Linked DNA regions of Homo sapiens: region 1 is linked to region 2. Evidence: promoter capture Hi-C in 16 types of primary human blood cells and fetal thymus (Javierre and others, 2016). All regions are on one chromosome and are shown on one strand. Each heading gives the region's core, a stretch centred on a gene start or on the middle of the fragment in contact. The rest is flanking DNA. Distances are from core to core; before and after follow the strand shown.

Region 1 (5,256 bases), core at 352-2,851, 120 kb before region 2:
CTCACGCCTGTAATCCCAGCACTTTGGGAGGCCGAGGCGGATAGATCACCTGAGGTCAGGAGTTCGAGACCAGCCTGGCCAAAATGAAACCCCGTCCCTTCTAAAAATACAAAAATTAGACAGGCATGGTGGCATGCGCCTATAGTCCCAGCAATTCAGGGGTCTGAGGCGGGAGAATCGCTTGAACCTGGGAGGCAGGGGTTGCAGTGAACCAAGACCAAGCCATTGCACTCCAGCCTGGGTGGCAGAGTGAGACTCTATCTCAAAAAAAAAAAAAGAAGATAAAGTTGAAGAAACCATCCAGAAAAATTTTTTAAAAAGGATTCACTGGGAAGAAAAGAAAATTGGAATTTCCATCCGAAAGACCAAGCATAAAATAGATGGTCCAGAAAAAGAAGAAACAGACAAGAAATCAAATAATCAAGAAATTTTCCCAGAACTTTTCTAGGCTAAGGATGTACTGAACAAATTCGACTTATTTTACTCTTTCCTGAAACCTCACTAAAACTAAAGAATCTAAAAACCAAACAAAAAACAAATAAAACCCCTCTACAATAACAAAAACACCAGAACAGGAAGAACAAGAGACTACAGTGATCACGCACTGGAGGCTAGAAAGCAGATGGCCAAATAACACCTCACTGGCAGACCAAGAGAAGGCTGAGACCTAAGCTAGGCACCAGGAAAGCTTAGAACAGAGCAGGCACTCGCGGTACTGGGCACCTTGGGAACTGGAGGAACTGGAGTTACAGAAGAACATTAAAAGGAGGAGGACAGGGTGAAATCTGGTTTCCAATGAGTTAGATCCCAGATTCCCTCCTCATACTCAGAGAAGGTGAGTTGTTTGAAGACAGTAAAACAAGAGGATCTCTAGAATAAGGCCTGGTCAGCTCAGTGGAGGGCACTGGTACTGCACCAAAAAGACAAAGATTAAGTGAATGCTGACGCCGCCCCCGCAGCCGCCCCTTTCGCTACCCAGCTCCCAGCCACCTTTCCTCCTAAGCAGGCTGAAAAACACTCCTCTGGGCAAGGTGACCAGTCTCGAGGCTTTCCTAAAAGCAGTGACATGGCAAGGGGAAGAGGGTTATATTCTCCCGATCATCCCAAAGCAAAGCTCAAAGTCTTTACGCTCAGAGCTTCCAAACAGCTTTTTAATCCTCCCATTCTTGATCATAAACAGACAACCAAAGATTACCAGACATGTGAAGGCAGCCTCTAACACAGAAGAGATCAAAAGAAACGGAAAGAAGCAACTTAAAGAAAACTAAAACCAAGCCAAAAAACTACCATGAACTCCCTAAAAGAGATAACAGAAGATGAAACAAGAACAGAGATGTTATTAAAAAACAAAAGAGCTCTTGGATAATAAAAAGCATGACAGTAGAAAAGTAAAACTAAATAAACAGCTGGGTTGGAAGATAAAGAAAAGGAAATATCCTACAAAGTAAAGCAAGAAATTGGCTAGAAACAAGGGAGAAAGGCAATAAAATTACAGGACCAGTCCTGAAAAATCCAACATCCAAATAAGAGAAAGAAGGTAGAGAAGCTAGAGAGAGAAAGAGAGAAGAAAAATACGGAAAGAAAACATCAGCGAAGTACAGTAATTCACGAACTTTTCCCACAGCTAAAGTACAAGGGTTTCTAGATTGAAAGGGAATGTCCCATGCTAAGCAAAGTAGACACCACCACCATGAAATTTCAGAGCCCTGAGATCAAAATATATTCTACAAGATTCCACAGAGGGAAAAAAAAAAAAAATACAGGTTGGGCACGGTGGCTCACACCTGTAATCCCAGCACTTTGGGAGGCTGAGCCGGGCGGATCATGAGGTCAGGAGTTCGACACCAGCCTCACCAAAATGGTGAAACCCCATCTCTACTAAAAATACAAAAATTAGCCGGGTGTGGTGGCACATGCCTGTAATCCCAGCTACTCACAAGGCTGAGGCAGGAGAATCGCTTGAACCTGGGAGGTGAAGATTGCAGTGAGCTGAGATCACGCCACTGGACTCCAACCTGGGTGACAGAGCAAAACTCTGTCTCAAAGCAAAAGAAAATAAAAAATAAAAAATCATATACCAAGGTTCAGGAACCAGCATAGCTTCAGACATCAAGAAAACCAGAAGAGGCCAGGCGAAGTGGCTTACACCTGTAATCTCAGTACTTTGGGAAGCCTAGGCAGGTGGATCACCTCAGGTCAGAAGTTTGAGACCAGCCTGGCCAACATGATGAAACTCTGTCTCTACCAAAAATACAAAATTAGCCAGGTGTGGTGGCGTGTGCCTGTAATCCCAGCTACTCGGGAGGCTGAGACAGGAGAATCACTTGAACCCAGGAAGTGGAGGCTGCAGTGAGCCAAGATCACACCAGTGCACTCCAGCCTGGGCAAGACAGAACGAGACTCCACCTCAAAAAAAAAAAAAAAAAAAAAAAAGCCCAGAAGAAAAGGAGCAATGCCTTCAAAATCCCAAACAAAACAATTTCCAACCTGGAATTCCAAAACCAACCAAGCTTGTAATCAAGGTTAAAGGTAAAATAAAGGCAATCTCAGACACATGTTTACCAAAAAAAGTTTCTCCATGTACCCTTTCTCAAGAAGCTACTAGAAAAAGTATTCCACCAAAATGTGAGAGTAAACCAAGGAAGAAGAACATGAGAAGACACAGAGTATAGGTAGCAGAAGACTCAATCCGGGAGAAATGTGAAGGAGGCTCCAGAGAGACAGCTGCCAGCTGGCCTGACGGCAGGCAGTCCAGACCAGAGCAGGACAACAGAGGGCTGAGGACGTATACCTCCAAGAGAGAAAAAAAAGAAACAGATTCCTTATTTTGACAGTATTGAGAAGGATTTTACAGCTCTCGCAGTTTGGGGATTAATTAGTGAAAGGTACCAGGAAAACCAAAGGAAAAACAAAGTAATGATGAACTTTAAGGAAAATGAAGTTTTACAAGAAAGAAAATGTGATCAGAGTATACAAGGCGACTCAGCTGTGAACATGGCAGTAACAAATCTTACACAGACTTAACCCAAAAGGTATTCAAGCCACACAGGGAGGCTGCAGAAAGGGGAAGCTAATGTGTCCCTGGGTGTGGGTGCTTCTGAAGGAGGTATAGAGAACTAAATTCTCATCGCCCAAGCAAGAAGTCCTCAGACATCTAAAACTGAAAAACTGATCAACAGTAAAGATTATTTAGAAACATGGGGTAAGTACTAGAAGAAAGAGCTAAAGATGAGAGAAGCTGCCTGCAGAGCAGTAGTAAAGGATGGGTGGAGACGAGTAAGATGGAGGAATGTGGCCTGGCACAGTGGCTCATGCCTGTAATCCCGGCACTTTGGGAGGCCAAGGCAGGTGGATCACGAGGTCAGGAGTTCGAGACCAGCCTGGCCAACATGGAGAAATCCCATATCTACTAAAAATACAAAAATTAGCCGGTTTGGTGGCGCACACCTGTAATCCCAGCTACTCAGGAGGCTGAGGCAGGAGAATTGCTTGAACCCAGGAGGTGGAGGTTGCAGTGAGCCAAGATTGCACCATCGCACTCCAGCCTGGGCAACAGAGCAAGACTCTGTCCCAACAACAAAAAAAAAAAAAAAAAGAAAAAGATGGAGGAATGCTTCCCCTCAATTATAAGCTATGTTAAAAATCACTAGTTTCCGTCCAATGACATCCTTCCCTTCTTCTCTGGTTATCCAGGTACAAGTCTGCCTAGATAAAGGCTGATTTTCCAGACTCCCTTGCAGCCAGGTGTCAGCCGGGTTTCCCCGCTCTTGTCAACAGCAGATACAACATGTGCAACTCTTGAGCCAAGCTCTTAACAGGGAAGGAATGCACTCTCCTCTTCTCCCCTTCCCACTGGCCAGAATGCCCAGATAACAAACCCTGAGTCCTATCAGAGTATCCATTTCACACCAAGAGATGGACACTGTGTTGAGGGGTGATAGAGAATCAAGACAAAAGGTACCAGTATCTCTGACATGATGGAGCCATCCTTCTTAAGCCAAACTTATATTCTGTTTAAGCCACTGTGATTTTGGCCTTTTACACAGCAGCTAAACCCATATCCTAACATATAAATCCTTCAAAAAAAAAAAAAAGCACTTAGTTTAGGTTTATTAATAACTCTGAAAATCTGAAAAGTATGTTAGAAGAAAACCATCAGTTTGTTCCCTGGAGGCCTGGTTAAGTAAAGTACTATTTTTAATTAGTAACACTTAGGATCAAACTAGAAAGATGGAACACATTTCATCAACAGAACTAAAAAGTCAGATGCCTGGTACAAGCTTTACTCACCTTTTGGATTTCTAAATGAGAGTCAGAGTCATCCAAGAACTCTAGGGGTGGAGAGCATTTGTCAATGACAGTCCTTCGGTCCCCAAGGGGCTCCTCACTGGGTTTCTCTTGAGGGTCTATAACTACTCTCCTGTCATAGAAGCTGCTCCTCTCTGGCACTGTCTTATCCTCCTCCATGCTGACCTCTGGGGTTGCGTCTTTCTCCTTCTGAGCAGCAGTGACTGTGACACTCCTGGCTGCTCCTTCTGCAGTCTTGGCTGGTCCTTCACTCCTGGCTGGTCCTTCTCCATGGCTGGGATGCTCTGCTGCGCTTGGTTTTGCCCGAGTGGCAGCCTCTCCCTTCCTTTTTGGCATCGATTTCCCCAGGATGCCCTGGATAGCCTTCAGGTAGATCATTGTGGAGCCCTGGTCTCGAAGTCTATCCCTCTTCCTTTTCTGGACCTTGTTGGGTTCCTCAATTGTATCATTCTGACCCTCAGCTTCAGCTGCAAATTCAGAGTTTGTGGAGTTATGAGAACTATCTTTGGAATCAACCTGGGAAAAAAAAAACAGAATTGAAAGGGCTGTTCCAAGGGCACTTTCGTACATGAAGCATTTGGCAAATTATAAATCAGTGGTGGTTCTACCAGTCAAAGGGAAAGTGACTGTGGCTAAGGCAAAGGTTCTCTCCGGGTGGTGAAGTGGCACTGTAAGAGGGGCTGATTGCTGCCATTTCTTAGCATTCGCCTTCTCATGCTCAGCAGATGATATCCTTTCACTGCAAGGGGACGGAAGGAGCTGAAATGAACACTCTCATTAAACCAGACTGCAAGCTCCTGGAAGGCAAGGACTACACTTCAGGCAAAACAGCAGCTCAAGCTCTTCCCACTGGAAAGGGCCCTAGAAACCAGCTAGCCCAATCCCATATCTAAGGGTAAAGGAAACCTGAGGACCCAGTGAGGGGAAGGGCTAGCCCCAGGAACTCCA
Region 2 (5,268 bases), core at 1-2,500:
TCTTACCTAGGGTTGGCTAGTTCCTACTCCATCCTGCTCTCTTCCTTCTCCGGGAAGTGCTCCTTAACTGAAACCACACAACCGCAACCCCTCCATCTCCCAGCAGGCAGGTAAGTCAATTTCCCACGCCACACACGGTCGGCTCTTCCGGCGCCAACATGACCCTGGCTTGTTCCTGTCTTTGCATCTGTCAGTCTCCCCAGGAGGAATGTGTTCTCCACGAGGGCAGGGACTACGCAGAACTGGCCCACTGGAGTCATGAGGACTGAACAGATGGGGTGTTAAGGATGCAGCTTTTCTTTGAGGGGAAAATACACGTGGGGTGGGGGACTGGGGGGAGCCACCTTCAAATGCAAACTATTCGGCCTTATAAAGAATGCTCTGGGCCGGGCGCGGAGGCTCATGCCCATAAGCCCAGCACTTTGGGAGGCCGAGGCGGGCGGATCACGAGGTCAGCAGTTCGAGACCAGCCTGACCAACATGGTGAAACCCCGTCTCTACTAAAAATATAAAAATCAGCCGGGCGCGGTGGCGCACGCCTGTAATCCCAGCTACTCAGGAGGCTGAGGCAGGAGAATCGCTTGAACCCGGGAGGCGGAGGCTGCAGTGAGTCGAGATCGCGCCACTGCACTCCAGCCTGGGCGACAGAGCGAGACTCCGTCTCAGAAAAAAAAAAAAAAAAAAAAGAATGCTCTGACGCTTACGAGCAGCGTCACCCTGGATGTGTCCTGCCTCAAGGGGCCTCAGTTCCCCGTCTGCAAAATGGACCCCGGGGCGGTAGAGGGGCTTCAGACCGTGCTATCGTCCCTGCTGGGTCGGGCCTAAGCGCCGGGCCCGTACCTCGGTAGCTGTGGATGCGGCGGCCCGTGCCAGGCGGCAGCGTTGGGTAGGGCTGCGGCTCGCCGTCGAAGTTGAGCCATACGGGCAGCACGACGCGCGGACTGCGATTGCAGAAGATGACCTGGGAGGGCTCGCGCGAGTTCACCGAGCGCAGCACGGGCCGCGGCCGCCCGGCCTCCATCTCCTCCTCGGCGCCCAGTTCCTCCGGGCCGGACTCTTCCGGGCCGGACTCCTCGGCGCCCGACTCCTCCCCGCCGTCTTCTTCAGGGCCGTACTCTTCGACGCCTGCCTCCTCCGCGCCTACCTCGGCCTCGTCCCAGTTCTCCGCCCTCCGGGGCATTCCCTCCGCGATCCAGACCACCCGGGCCGGACGCCGCGGGATCCGCGGGTCGGACGCGGGGCGGAGCTGCGTGCGCGCTCCCGAGTCGACCTCCGTAGTCTTCGCGCGCGCTCGGTAGAGGATGGAACGCGCTCGCGGAAATAGCCGGCCGGAGGCTGTGCGCGTGCGCAGAAGGATCCTCCAGCACCGTAGGCCGTTGTAACGGAGGCGAGGCTAGGCCAACTCGTTACTGTATTTCCACTATAAAATTTTTTTTCGCCCCTCTAAGGTTTGGTGTTTTTTTTTTTTTTGAGACAGGGTCTCACTCTGTCGCCCGGGCTGGAGTGCAGTGGCGCGAGCTTGGCTCACTGCAGCCTTGACCTCCCTGGCTCAAGCGATCGTCTCGCCTCAGCCTCCCGAGTAGTTGGTACTGTAGGCGCGCACCACCATGCCCGACTAATTATTTTTATTTGTTGTTTGAAACGGAGTCTCGCTATGTTGCCTAGGCTGGTCTCGAACTCCTGGGTTCAAGTGATCCTCCTGCCTTGGCCTCTCAAAGTGCAGGGATTACAGGCCTTAGCCACTGTGCCTGGTGGACTAACTGAATTTTTTTTTTCTTCATGTCAGACGCGCAATGTGCCGACGTCGTAACAAGGTTCGAGGGTGGCGCATCTCACACGGGAACACCCAATCATCACGCTTATAAAGTACAAAAAGTCAACTAACTGAATTCTTACAAGGCATGGGTGATTAGTAAAGAGGGAAAAATAATTAGACCTACTATGTGCAGAGCACTCTGGTGGAAATTGGAAAATCAGATATTTACTTCAGAGCAATTAAAACTACAAACATAAACACTCATTAACTTTGTTCATTTTACAAATATTTATTAAGGCCCTACTATGTACCACCTATGGTGATAAGTGTTGAAAATATTGTAAAAACCGGTCATGTTTCCTGCCTTCACTGCACTTCAATAAAAGCGTCATACGGTAATCAATCACACAAATAAAATAGCAACTATGGCCGGGTGCAGTGGCTCATGCCTGTAATCCCAGTACTTTGGGAGGCTGAAGTGGGCTGATCACAAGGTCAGGAGTTCTAGACCAGCCTGACAACATGGTGAAACCTCGTCTCTACTAAAAATACAAAAATTAGCCTGGCGTGGTGGTGCGCGCATGTAATCCCAGCTACTTAGGAGGCTGAGGCAGGAGAATTGCTTGAACCCGGGAGGCGGAGGTTGCAGTGAGCTGAGATTGTGCTACTGCACTGCAGCCTGGGTGACAGAATGAGACTCTGTCTCAAAAAAAAAAAAAAAAAAAGTGCAACTGTGACTAGTACGACAAAAAGAGACAGGGTACTATAGAAGGCTAAAGATCTGGGGGTCAAGGAAGATGGTACACAATTCTGTGTAATTAAATGTTCAATGATGTGGGATGGACTCAAGTGGAGAAGCAGCTCAGAAAAAGAAGGGTTCAGAGAGTTTTATATTAGTTAAAAATAATTTTTTTTTAGACAGTCTCGCTTTATCACCCAGGCTGGAGTGCAGTGGCTCAGTCTCAGCTCACTGCAACCTCCATCTGCCGAGTTCAAGTGATTATCGTGCCTCAGCCTCTGGAGTAGCTGGGATTACAGGTGTGTGCCACCACACCCAGGTAATTTTTGTACTTTTAGTAGAGACGGGGTTTCACCATGTTTGCCAGGCTGGTCTTGAACTCCTCACCTCAGGTAATCTGCCTGCCTTGGTTTTCCCAAGTGCTGGGATTACAGGTGTGAGCCACCGTGCCCAGCTCAAAAATAAATTTCAAGTAGAAAGAAAAAAATCTATCAAGTGCCAGACACTGTGCTAAGCATCCCACGTGAATTAAGGCTATGTCATTATCTCCATTTCACAGCTAAGGAAACAGAAGGGTATATAAGAATGTGAAGGCCTAGCACTATACGCCTGTAATCCCGAGATTTTGGGAGCCCAAGGCAGGTGGATCACTTGAGTTCAGGAGTTGGAACCAGCCTGGGCAACATAGCGAGGTCCTGTCTCTATAAAAAATGAAAGAATTAGCCAGGCATAGTGGCGTGCACCTGTAGTCCCAGCTACTCAGGAGGCTGAAGCAGGAGGATCACTTGAGCCTGGGAGGTTGAGGCTGCAGTAAGCCGTGATCATGCCACTGCACTCCAGCCTGGGCAACAGAGCCAGACTCTGTCTCAGAAAAAAAAAAAAATGTGAAAAGGGTAGTCAAAATGCTGGATCAGAGAGGCTCATCACCTGATGCCTTAGGAGAAAATGACAGTATGAGTGAACCTCAGGAGTTGGATATCTCCACAAAAGCACTGACACCATGAACCTAAGTAATTTTGCCTAGGGCTCTCCTTGACAGCTCACTGCACAGAGATGGTGTATCCTGGTGGCCTCCAGCAGGATTAAGTGACCAGCAGTGATGCTGGACCCCCAGCTACATTAACAACATGAAAACACTGTAGAGAAAAATCCCAAAGTAGGCCAGACGCAGTGGCTCATGCCTGTAATCCCAGCACTTTGGGAGGCCAAGGTGAGCAGATCACTTGAGGTCAGGAGTTTGTGACCAGCCTGGCCGACATGGTGAAATCCCATCTCTACTAAAAATACAAAAAATTAGCCAGCATGGTGGCCTGCGCCTGTAATCCCAGCTACTCGGGATGCTGAGGCAGGAGAATCACTTAAACCCCAGAGGCAGAGGTTGCAGTGAGCCCAGATAGCACCACTGCACTCCAGCCTGGGCAACAGAGTGAGACTCCACTCAAAAAATAAATAAATAATAAAAATAAGATAAACCCCAAAGTAGGACTTCTGTTAATCAAATTACAATGGCTTAGAGCCATCATAATTCACAAGATTCATGCAAACATCCCCTCAGTTGTACTCCCATGCTAGCGAGGTGAAATATAACAGTTTAATATTACAGAAATGCCTACATCCCTAAAATGAAACCAGTTGTTTAGATAAATGCAGGCTTTGAGACTGCAAATAATGTTTCAAAGATCATTTAAGAGGAAGGGGTGGCCAAGCACGGTGGCTTGTGCCTGTAATCCCGGCACTTTGGGAGGCCGAGGTGGGCGGATAACTTGAGCTGAGGAGCTCGACACTAGGCTGGGCGACATGATGAAATCCTGTCTCTACAAAAAATACAAAAAATTAGCCGGGCGTGGGTGCACCTGTAGTCCCAGCTGCTCAGGAGGCTGAGGCTGGAGGATCACCTGAGCTCAGGAAGGTCAAGGCTGCAGTGAACTGTGATCGCGACACTGCACTTTAGCCTGGGTAACAGAGCGAGACTCTGTCTCAAAAAAGAAAAAAGAAAAGAAAAAGTTGCAAAGGAAACAAGTTTAGAATACACAGGCAAAATTTTTCTTACAGTACACTTTTCATTAGGCAAAAAGACATGTAGAAAAGAATAAAAAATACAATGTCTAAAGACAACCGGTGGGCCGGGCGCAGTGGCTCACGCCTGTAATCCCAGCACTTTGTGAGGCCAAAGCAAGTGGATCACGAGGTCAAGAGATCAAGACCATCCTGGCTAACCCAGTGAAACCCTGTCTCCACTAAAAATACAAAAACAAAATTAGCCGGGCATGGTGGTGGGCGCCTGTAGTCCCAGCTACTCGGGAGGCTGAGGCGGGAGAATGGCATGAACCCGAGAGGCAGAGCTTGCAGTAAGCGGAGATGGCGCCACCGGACTCCAGCCTGGGCGACAGAGCGAGACTCCGTTTCAATAAATAAATAAAGACAACTGGTGACTTGTTCTATCTCCTTTTCTGTCTTTTCCAAATTTTCTCTAAGGGGGATATATTTTGCCTTGTTTGTATGTCGACCAATTAAAATATACAAGTACAATAATAAAGCAAATACTGATAATGTCACATGTAATTAGCATGTTGCCATATTTACTTCGTTTCCAGTTTTTGCAATGAGCTGAGATCGTGCCACTGCACTCCAGCCTGGGCGACAAAGCGAGACTCTGTCTCAAGAAAAAAAAAAAAACCAGAGTATCTTGTCACCCCCAAAACTCCTTCATGGTCAAACCCTGCTTCCACTGTTAATCCCTGGCAAGCACTGGTCTGTCTGTCTTGTGTCCCTA

Evidence for each region. Contacts are between HindIII fragments. The CHiCAGO score rates a contact against its expected background, and 5 or more counts as called.
Region 1: a fragment that was not itself captured here is called in contact with the fragment with the promoter of VHL in region 2 in 15 of 17 cell types (non-activated CD4 T cells, activated CD4 T cells, fetal thymus and 12 more); the score reaches 10.8 in non-activated CD4 T cells.

Annotation. Positions count from the first base shown.
Region 1 is chr3:10,259,705-10,264,960 of GRCh38, reverse strand. It overlaps TATDN2 (TatD DNase domain containing 2), which reads right to left. Exons shown (of 8, transcript NM_014760.4): 3 at 4,291-4,824. Among named protein-coding and RNA genes, the nearest start is that of TATDN2, 14 kb to the right of the region's middle. RefSeq lists a silencer at 837-1,026. The HindIII fragment of the contact is 1,822 bases long and covers 691-2,512 here.
Region 2 is chr3:10,137,760-10,143,027 of GRCh38, reverse strand. It overlaps VHL (von Hippel-Lindau tumor suppressor), which reads right to left and starts at 1,250. Exons shown (of 3, transcript NM_000551.4): 1 at 841-1,250. The coding sequence starts at 1,180. It also overlaps the pseudogene LOC124906359. RefSeq lists an enhancer at 1-333. The HindIII fragment of the contact is 16,438 bases long and covers 1-5,268 here.